Linked DNA regions of Homo sapiens: all the other regions are linked to region 1. Evidence: promoter capture Hi-C in 16 types of primary human blood cells and fetal thymus (Javierre and others, 2016). All regions are on one chromosome and are shown on one strand. The core of a region is centred on a gene start or on the middle of the fragment in contact, and the rest is flanking DNA. Distances in the headings are between cores, read along the strand shown. Region 1 holds the start of ADGRB2 (adhesion G protein-coupled receptor B2). Region 2 has its middle 8.3 kb from the start of KHDRBS1. Region 3 has its middle 26 kb from the start of KHDRBS1. Region 4 has its middle 27 kb from the start of PTP4A2.

Region 1 (2,514 bases), core at 9-2,508:
GGGAAGAGGTAGGCTTTTCTCTTCTTGCCCCATCTTGAGGGTGCCACAACTTAAGGGGCATCAGTGGAGAGGTGGGGTTGGTATTTGCTGAAATGAGGACTTCTTTGCACTGAAAATTTGGCCCTTCCTGGCTAGTGAACCTTCAAAAAGTATGGTCCTGAAACCATCCCACCCTCATCGCAAAGCTGAAACCATCCCACCCTTATTGCAAAGCTGCCCCCTGCTGGTTTCTCCTCTGACCAAAGCCATGGGATTAACCTACTTGTGTTGGCTGCAATGGTGCGTCCCTGGTCGGCCTACCTTACTGATGGCAACATGCCCAGGCCACAAACTGCCTGACCAGAGCCCTGAACCATGGGCATCTCCCTGTGTACCGCCTGAACCATGAGGGCTCAGGCCCCACCCAACTGTTTCTGGGCTTAGTGCCAAGATGGGGAAGGGGTGGGTCTGTACATCTCTGCTGCTTCTACACAAACAGATGCAACATGGGGGCGCCCCTGGCACAGGGAAAGGCACTTGTGGGAATAGACAGGGACTCAGGAAAACATGTAACACACTGCACACGTGTAGCATCCCCGTGCCTAAGGACGTGCAACATTGCAGTTTACAGTATGCATCAAACATGTCACATTGCAGTATACATATGTGGCTGCTACATGAGTTACCCACAGTCCTCAGCACACATGTGGCACCTGTAAGCTTGCATACATATAACATCCCTGCGCACAGGAACAAGCAACATGCATTCAGGACTTGGGCACATGTTAATACACCGTGCATGTGTGTGGCACTTGCATGCACCTACCCAGGCAACATGGCAGTGCACACTTAGGGCACCTGTATGCATATGCAAAGTTCAGCGCACATGACTGGCACCTGCATGCACAGGGACATGCAATATGCAATGCACATGGGAAGGTGAGCAAATGCTTCAGCCTGCAGGGCCCGGGACACCCTGGCGGCGCGACAAGCCTCCGGCATGGGTATAGCTGGAGGGGCGTCGCGGATCGCCTCATTCTGCGGTCCAAGAAGCAGCGGGCTGGGCGGGGGCTTACCCAGGGCTTCTCCCGCGCCGGCGCCTGGGGCCCAAGGCGGGGAGGTGGGGGGCACGATCGGCTCGGCTGGCGCTGTTCCCCCTTTAACAGGAGGCGGCGCGCGTCGCCCCCGCCCCTTCTCCCGCGGCTCCTCGCGCCCGGCCCGGCGCGCGCCCCCTCCCGGGCCCGGCCCGCGCAGGCGCCGCGTCCCGCCTCGGCCGTCACTCGGCCCGGCGCGCGCTGCGGGCAGCGGCCGGAGCGGCCGGAGGAACCGGGTTCGGCGGCAGCGGCGGCGGCGCTCAGAGACCGAAGAGGATGCGGCACCGGCTCTCAGAGCCCGGGGCTGCGGCCGCCGCCCGCAAATAGGAGGCGGCGCGCGGCGCGGGCGGTGCTCGGGGCGGGGGAGCGGGGGAGCGGGGGGCGGCGCGGCAAGGAGGCGGCGGCGGCGGCGGCGGCAGGAGCCCGCGCCCGGCCCGGCGCCGCCCGCCCGCCCGCCCCGCGCTGCTCCGCGGCGCCTTTTCTGCACCCGCCGCCCGGGAGAGCGGGAGCCTCGGCCCTCCGCGCGGCTGCAGCTACCTACCCTGCGCCCGGCCCGGTCCCCGACTTAGGGATGGCAAACTTGCGCCCCGTGGCCGCCCCCGCCAGCGCCGGCCCCCGCTCCTGCTGCTGACGGCGCCCAGGTGAGTGCTCGGCCCCAGACCCCGACCTGGCCTCGCACCGAGCCCTGCCGGCGCGGTCCCGAGTTTCCGCACCGGCCCGGACTCGGGGCGCTCTCCTAACCCGTCTCTGCTGAATTCTCCCCCAGCCCGAACTGAGTTCGTTCAGCGTTCGCCCACCCCCATCTTCTGGGGAACTCCCAAACCTAGGGCCGAGGCCCCCTTAATCGCTGGTGAATCTCTAATCTCGGCCCCCCCCCTCCCCCAGCCTGGACCGACCCTCTTACCCATCTATGCTAAAGTCTCCCCCTCCAGAATTCTGACACAGACCGTGCTTGCTGTCTCGAGTCTTTCCCTATCTCGGCCTGGATCCGGGCAGTGTGCCCCCCACCTTTATTAGAGCCCCCCCATTAACCTGCAGCTCAACTGTGTCTCCCCCTCTATTTCCCGTCACGGTCTGAATGCCGGACCCTGCTCCTCTCCTCCACTTCATCACTGCCCGGAGTCTTTCCTGTCCCCATCCATGTCTGCCCATAGTTTCTACCCTCCCCCGCGCCTGTACCCCGACCATGCTTCTTCTCTATTTCTGCCCCTAGCGCCCCCTCCCCCATATCTATCTGACCGGAGTCCCGCCTTCCCTCGCCAATCTTGCTGCAAGTCCCCTCCCCTCAGCTTGGAATTGGGGCCGTGTCCCCCGTGTCTGCTCCGCGCCCCCTCCCCTCCAGCTGAGATCCCGACTGGACCCGCATCCCTGACTCCCGTGTCCATCTTTGGCCGGAGTCTATCTGTCCATCCCCCATCCCTATCCTCCCACCCCTGGTCAT
Region 2 (2,514 bases), core at 6-2,505, 240 kb before region 1:
AGATTGCATCACTGCACTCCAGCCTGGGCGACAGAGCGAGACTTCATCTAAAATAATAATAATAATAATAATAAATAAAAAATAAAAATTACCCAGGCATGGTGGCGGGCACCTGTAATCCCAGCTATTTGGGAGGCTGAGGCAGGAGAATCGCTTGAACCTGGGAGGTGGAGGTTACAGTGAGCCAAGATCGCGTCATTGCACTCCAGCCTGGGCAACAAGAGTGAAACTCCATTTCAAAAATAAATAAATAGATAGGCTGGGCGCAGTGGCTCCCAATCCCAGCACTTTGGGAGGCTGAGGTGGGTGGATCAGCTGAGGTCAGGAGTTCGAGACGAGTCTGGCCAACATGGCAAAACCCCGTCTCTACTAAAACTACAAAAATTAGCCAGGTGTGGTGGCACCTGCCTTTAATCCCAGCTACACGGGATGCTGAGGCAGGAGAATTGCTTGAACCTGGGAGGTGGAGGTTGCAGTGAGCCGAGATCGCACCACTGCACTCCAGCCTGGGTTACAGAGAAAGACTGTCTCAAAATAAATAAATAAATAAACAAACAAACTCCCACTCTGCCCTTTGCCACTGACCTGCTCCTCCTCAGTGTCTGTATCTTAGGGAACAGCACCCCTAACTCACTGCACACCCTGGATATCTGAGACTTGTTCTGACTTCCCTCCTCTGCCTCATCACTCTACCCCCACCACATACAAACCATTCTTAAGTCCTTTGTTGCTTACCTCATAAATACTGAAAATCCCATCCACATTTCTCTGTCTCCCCTGCCTCTGCCTCCAGCTGAAGTGCCATAATGCCTCTCTTGAACTTCTGCCACCTCTGACCTGGTCCCCTACTTCCACTCCTTTTCCCCTTTTCTATTTTCAACCCAGAAGCCAGAATAGTATTTTTCCTATTGCCTTTAGGATAAAGACCTGAGTCCTGTTAACATGTTTGACCTGCCCCTACCTGTATGCCTTTCTTTTCTTTTTTTATAGAGATCGGGTCTCACTGTATTGCCCAGGCTGGAATGCAGTGGCGCCATCATAGCTCACTGCAGCCTCCAACTCCTGGCCTCAAATGATCCTCCTTCCTCAGCCTCCCAAGTAGCTGGGACTACAGGTGCTACTGTGCCCAGCTACACATGGCTTTCTTACCTCATCTCATGCCATTCTCCTCCCTGGTTCCTGTGCTTAGCAACCCTGGCCTTTTTCAGTTCCTCAAATAAGCCAGACTCCTGCTTCCTCTCGACCACACCCATTCTGGTTCCTTAGCTTAAAACTCCAATCACTGTCCCCCTTCCTCCAATCCAGTCCCTTGTCTTTTCTTTCTTTAGCTACTCCTCTTTTCTTTAGCTACTGTAATTCCTATATATTCTTCCGATATAGTCAATTGCCACTTCTTCAGGGAAGGTGTCCAGGCCCCCTAGTGCAGATTGGCTTAGCTCCCTTTGTTACATGCTTTCATGGCTCCTTCCTAAAACAGCACCTTTTAAATTTACCTCTTTGGGGCTGGATGTGGTGGCTCATTCCTGTAATCCCAGCATTTTGGGAGGCCAAGGTGGGTGGATTACTTGAGCTCAGGAGTTCGAGACCAGCCTGGGCAACATGGCGAAACCCTGTCTCTACCAAAAAAAAAAAAAAAAAAAAATTCACTGGGTGTAGTGATGTGAGCCTGTGGTCCCAGCTACTTGGGAGGCTAAGGTGGGAGGATTGCTTGAGCCCAGGAGGTGGAGGTTGCGGTGAGCCGAGCTCATGCCACTGTACTCCATCTTGGGTGACAGAGTGATACCCCATCTCAAAAAAAAAAAAAAAAAAACCACACAAAAATTTACCTCTTTGTGATTATTTGAGTAACCTCCATCTCTGCAACTCAAATGTAAGCTCTATGAGAGCAGGAACTTTGTTTCTGGTGTTTAAGGTTATGTCCCCAGCACAGTGCTGGTCTGGATTGGCTGATCAGTAAATATTTGTTGACTCAATGAATATCAATAGGAACAGCACATGCAAAGACAACAAAACTTTACAAAACTTGGTGTGGGTCCCTGGAATGGCAAGTTGCGGGATATGAGCTAGATTTGGATGAGTGGGGAGGGGCTCATGGAAGATGGCAGGAGATAAGGCCAAAAGGTAGTCTGAGCCGGGCGGGCTGGCTCACGCCTGTAATCCCAGCACTTTGGGAGGCGGAGGCGGGTGGATCACGAGGTCAGGAGATTGAGACCATCCTGGCTAACATGGTGAAACCCCGTCTCTACTAAAAATACAAAAAAAATTAGCCGGGCGCGGTGGCGGGCGCCTGTAGTCCCAGCTACTCAGGAGGCTGAGGCAGGAGAATGGCGTGAACCCGGGAGGCGGAGCTTGCAGTGAGCCAAGATCGCGCCACTGCACTCCAGCCTGGGTGACAGAGCGAGACTCCGTCTCAAAAAAAAAAAAAGGTAGTCTGAGTCTTGATGCTCAGATAAGGAGATAGAGTGCCAGTGGAGAACAGTGAGATAACGTGGTCAGACGCGGAAAGGAGGGAAG
Region 3 (2,514 bases), core at 7-2,506, 220 kb before region 1:
CATATATTAACTTCATTCTCATGGCAGCCCTTTGAGGTAGGTATTATTAATCTCATTTTGCAGTGAGGAAATTGAAGCTCAGACAGGTTAAGTGACACCATCGAAGTCACATAGCCAGAAAGTTGTTGCAGTGGGCTATGTATGAAGCTATCAGTTTCTATTGCCTCCTCAGAATTTTTATTTTTTAATTTTAGAATGAAATTCTTGCTTGCTCCAGGCTGGAGTGCAGTGGTGTTGTGATCACAGCTCACCGCAGCCTTGACCTCCTTGGCTCAAGCTATCCTCTCACCTCGGCCCCCAAGTAGCTGGGACCACAGGCATGTGCCACCACACCTGGCTAATTTTTTTTTTTGTAAAGGTGGGGTCTTGCTTTGCTACCCAGGCTGGTCTCAAACTCCCGGGCTAAAGCAATTCCCCCGCCTTAGCCTGCCAAAGTGCTGGGATTACAGGTGTGAGCCACTGCGCCTGGCCCTCCCCAGAGTTTTTTTTTTTTTTTTTTTTTGAGACGGGGTCTCACTCTGTCGCCCAGGCTGGAGTGCAGTGGCACGATCTCGGCTCACTGCAAGCTCCGCCTCCCGGGTTCACGCCATTCTCCTGCCTCAGCCTCCTGAGTAGCTGGGACTACAGGCACCCACCAGCACGCCCGGCTAATTTTTTTGTATTTTTAGTAGAGATGGGGTTTCACCATGTTAGCCAGGATAGTCTCGATCTCCTGACCTGGTGATCCACCCGCCTCGGCCTCCCAAAGTGCTGGGATTACAGGCTTGAGCCACCGCGCCCGGCCTTCCCCAGAATTTCTTACAGAAAATTTCTACTCGGGATCCAGTAGGTGACCAGCTAGTGCTCTGAAGCTTTGTATGCCATTAATTGCTTAACGTCAGTATCACATGCGCTCTGGATGATTCTCGGTGGCTCCAATGCTGAGTGTGTGGTGGTTGACTCTACTGCATCAGTATCACTCAAGACTGCTCTATCGAGTTACAATGCCTCCTCTTTGTCAGGGTCCTGGCTTCCCCCAGGGCTTGAGGACAGTATGTGGCTTTTGAACTTGCTTTTCATCGGGGATGGAGAAAGCATGCGAGTTCACCCACTGCCTCAATTGTTAGAAGTGTCTGGGCAGAATCAGGCATATGTGGCTGGCCGATGTCTCTCCCTGGTAGTTCCAGGGGCCAGCCTCGCCTTCCTGTCTGAACTCGGCAGGGACAGGCTGGCTGGGTCGACAGAGGCATCTGCCTGGCAGTTGGGGGCCTGTGAGAATAGCTCTAGTTCTCACCCAGCAGCCTGAGTTGTGGCCTGGGCAAGACCTAGTGAAGGCACACGTTAGTCACAGCAGCCTGGGTGGGGAGGGGGCAGGCATGGGGAGTTCCCTGTGGAGTTCTGGGCAGAAGAGAAGAGCTCAGCTATCACTGTGTGACTGGTAGGGCAGAGTGAGGAGGGGCGTTAGGCCAAGTGCCTCTCTTCCCCTTGGTCGTTAGTCGAGAGCCTCAGGGAAAACGCCAGCCTTCCTGATCTGATCTAATTTCGAGCCCCCCTGCTGTGTGACAGAATGATTCTCTCTGCACATGGTCAGCCGCAGATTTTTCTCAAGGTGAAAGCAATTAGGGCTTCATTCCCTCCTCCCCCAGCTGCTAGAAATAAAAGGAAGATGGAAGAGAAGCTTCTGCCAAGGTCAGCCAGAATGCCCAGTCCTGTTCCTGTAATTGGCTCTGCCACCTGCTCACACCTCTCACAGGTTGTTGTGGTCTCAGGCATTTTGGTGTCCCCCAGGGCTGAGGCAGTGAAGACAGCAGGAGCTACTGCTTTTACATCTCTCTCCAGGACAAGAAAGAGGGCATCTTCACCCTGCCCTGGGTGGGGAATGTGCAGGAACTGTGTGAGCCAGGCCTGGGCGGCACACACAGATGGAGCTGAGCTGTTCTCTCCTTTCTCTGGAAGAATCAAAACCCAGGCAAGAGAAAAGTCATTGGAAGGTGGGAGAACTCATTCATTTGGTCAACTGCTAAACCAAGCACTTTGCTAGGCGTTCCTGGTCCCTGTAGTCTTGGAGCCAAGGGGAACAGAGTGGGTGCAGGAGGTGGAGGGATGGGGAAGTCAACGGGCAGGCAATTCCAAAGGTACCAAATGTCACAAAGGAGGACAGCAGGATACCACGGGAACCTGACCTACGATAGAAATTAGGTTCTTGGCTTTTTTTTTTTCCTTAATTTTTAAATGTATTGTCATAGAGATGAGGTTTCACTGTGTTGCCCAGGCTGGTCTTGAACTCCTGGGCTCAAGCAATCCTCTCTTCTTGGCTTCCCAAAGTACTGGGCTTACAGGTGTGAGTGACCAACCACATCCAGCCTTATTTTATTTTATTTTATTTTATTTTATTTTATTTTATTTTATTTTATTTTATTTTATTTTATTTTATTTTATTAGAGAAAGGGTCTTGCTTTGCTGTCCAGGCTGAAGTGCAGTAGCATGAACAGGGCTCACCGCAGCTTTGACCTCCTGGGCTATAAGTGATCCTCC
Region 4 (2,514 bases), core at 8-2,507, 200 kb before region 1:
CCGGGAGGCGGAGCTTGCAGTGAGCCAAGATCGCGCCACTGTACTCCAGCATGGGTGACAGAGCGAGACTCTGTCTCAAAAAAAAAAAAAAAAAAAAGAAGAGAATTTAATAGTACATAAGGATATCCAGTAGGAATTAGTTCTCCTTCCTACTGCCATGCCCTCTTTCCTCCATTCTCAGAGGCAGTCATTATTGGAGGTGTTTCCTTCCAATGTGTTCTATACATACCTAAATAGATATATCTACATCTATACAAATTCTTATTTTAAACAGACACATAAACTTATTTTTTTCTTTTAAAAACAATCTTAACAATGAATCTTGAAGATTATTCCATACCAACACATCCAGATAGATTTATCTGTCATTTTTTTTTTTTTGAGAGGGAGTTTTGCTCTTGTTGCCCAGGCTGGAGTGCAATGGCATAATCTTGGCTCACTGCCACCTCTGCCTCCCAGGTTCAAGCAATTCTCCTGCCTTGGCCTCCCAAGTAGCTGGGACTACAGGCGCCCACTACCACGCCCAGCTAAGTTTTGTATTTTTAGTAGAGACGGGGTTTCGCCATGTTCGCCAGGCTGGTCTCGATCTCTTGAGCTCAAGTGATCTGCCTGCTTTGGCCTCCCAAAGTGCTGGGATTACAGGTGTGAGCCACTGTGCCCAGCCTCATTTTTTTTTTTTTTAGAGTCTTACTCTGTCACCCAAGCTGGAGTGCAGTGGCGTGATCAGAGCTCACTGCAGTGTCAACCTCCTAGCCTCAAGCGATCCTCCCACCTTAGCCTCCTGAGTAGCTGGGACTACCGGTGCACACCACCGCACCTCAGCTAATTTTTTGTATTTTTTTGTATAGAAGAACTTTCGCCACGTTGCCCAGGATGGTCTCAAACTCCTCAGTGCAAGCAGTCCACGCACCTTGGGCTCCCAAAATGATGGAATTTCAGCCGTGAGCCACTGTGCCTGACCCTTTTTTTTTTTTTTTTAAGGCTAGTTAAGTCAAGTGAAGCTGTGGGAGTGGAAAAGGAATAAAGAAATATTTTAAACAGTTGCATACTATTCCATTTTAGTAAATGACTGTCCTACTGAAGGATGTTTAGATTCTGTCTCTGTTTTTTTTTTTTTTGAAACAGAGTTTCTCTCATCTAGGGTAGAGTGCAGTGGTGCAGTCTCAGCTCACTGCAACCTCTGCCTCCCAGGTTCAAGCGATTCTCTCGCCTCAACCTCCCGAGTAGCTGGGATTACAGGTGCCTGCCACCACACCCAGCTAATTTTTTTGCTTTTTTGTTGTATTTTTTCGGGGTTTTTTTTGGGGCGGAGTCTTACTCTGTCACCCAGGCTGGAGTGCAGTGGCGCGATCTCGGCACACTGCAACCTCTGCCTCCCGGGTTCAAGCAATTCTCCTGCTTCAGCCTCCCGAGTAGTTGGGATTGCAGGCATGTACCACCATGCCCAGCTAATTTTTGTATTTTTAGTAGAGACGGGGTCTCACCATGTTGGCCAGGCTACTCTCCAACTACTGACCTCAAATGATCCACCTGCCTCGGCCTCCCAAAGTGCTGGGATTACAGGCGTGAGCCACCATGCCTGGCCATTTTTTTGTATTTTTAGTAGAAACAGGGTTTTACCCTGTTGGCCAGGCTGTTCTCAAACTCCCAACCTCAGGTGATGCACCTGCCTCGGCTTCCCAAAATGCTGGGATTACAGGCGCCCAGCCTAAATTCTCTTTTGCTGTAGCAAACATCCTTGTGTTAATTTCTTTGGACATGCCAAATTGCCTTGGGAAATACTTTGAAAAGTAAAAAGAACCATACAAGGGCAAGGGCTTTTATGATTAGGATGATTGTTGTTGTTTTCCTGCAACTTTGCCTTCTCTGCAGTCTGAAACCCCAAGTTCTGACCATGAGTGCTCTCTCTAGTGGACAGGCGTGCTCTCCATCACTTGCTCTAGCTGTCAGAAAAGAGTGTCTCCTGAAAGTCTCTGGCTTGGAATAGACAGCATTGTTCAGATAGGTTTGCAGTCTTTAGGCTTAGGCTGCTAAACCCTGATTATGGCCCGTTTTGGGATGGGGTGCTGGGCTACTGATGCTGGTGTGCAGCACATTAACTGCAGGGATAGCCAGAGGTCACACTTCTGGGGATGACCTTGACTTTCAGAGTAGACTGGGTGAGCGGTATTTTGCTAGATCAAGCTCTGACCTGTTCTGACCACAAGAGGACAGTAGTGAGCTGCCTAGCGCTTCTGCCAGGCTCATGGAAGGCCCTTCCTATACAGGGAGTGTCTGTCTGGAGTAGCTCCCTGCAGGACTGGGCAGCCAGGTAAATTCTCCTCTTCCTGAAGAATGAAGGTATGTGCTGGTCGTGGTGGCTCATGCCTGTAATCCCAGCACTTTGGGAGGCCGAGGTGGGCGGATCACCTGGAGTTGGGAGTTCCAGACCACCCCGACAAACATGGAGAAACCCCGTCTCTACTAAAAATACAAAATTAGTTGGGTGTGGTGCCTGTAATCCCAGCTGCTTAG

What was found. Contacts are between HindIII fragments. The CHiCAGO score rates a contact against its expected background, and 5 or more counts as called.
Region 2: a fragment that was not itself captured here is called in contact with the fragment with the promoter of ADGRB2 in region 1 in 5 of 17 cell types (fetal thymus, M1 macrophages, naive CD8 T cells and 2 more); the score reaches 6.3 in fetal thymus.
Region 3: a fragment that was not itself captured here is called in contact with the fragment with the promoter of ADGRB2 in region 1 in 2 of 17 cell types (activated CD4 T cells and naive CD8 T cells); the score reaches 6.3 in activated CD4 T cells.
Region 4: a fragment that was not itself captured here is called in contact with the fragment with the promoter of ADGRB2 in region 1 in 9 of 17 cell types (fetal thymus, naive CD4 T cells, total B cells and 6 more); the score reaches 9.8 in fetal thymus.

What each region holds. Positions count from the first base shown.
Region 1 is chr1:31,763,084-31,765,597 of GRCh38, reverse strand. It overlaps ADGRB2 (adhesion G protein-coupled receptor B2), which reads left to right and starts at 1,258. Exons shown (of 33, transcript NM_001364857.2): 1 at 1,258-1,714. The HindIII fragment of the contact is 4,434 bases long and covers 702-2,514 here.
Region 2 is chr1:32,004,331-32,006,844 of GRCh38, reverse strand. No RefSeq gene overlaps it. Among named protein-coding and RNA genes, the nearest start is that of KHDRBS1, 8.3 kb to the left of the region's middle. The HindIII fragment of the contact is 4,207 bases long and covers 1-2,514 here.
Region 3 is chr1:31,986,286-31,988,799 of GRCh38, reverse strand. No RefSeq gene overlaps it. Among named protein-coding and RNA genes, the nearest start is that of KHDRBS1, 26 kb to the left of the region's middle. The HindIII fragment of the contact is 806 bases long and covers 854-1,659 here.
Region 4 is chr1:31,963,974-31,966,487 of GRCh38, reverse strand. No RefSeq gene overlaps it. Among named protein-coding and RNA genes, the nearest start is that of PTP4A2, 27 kb to the right of the region's middle. The HindIII fragment of the contact is 4,027 bases long and covers 1-2,514 here.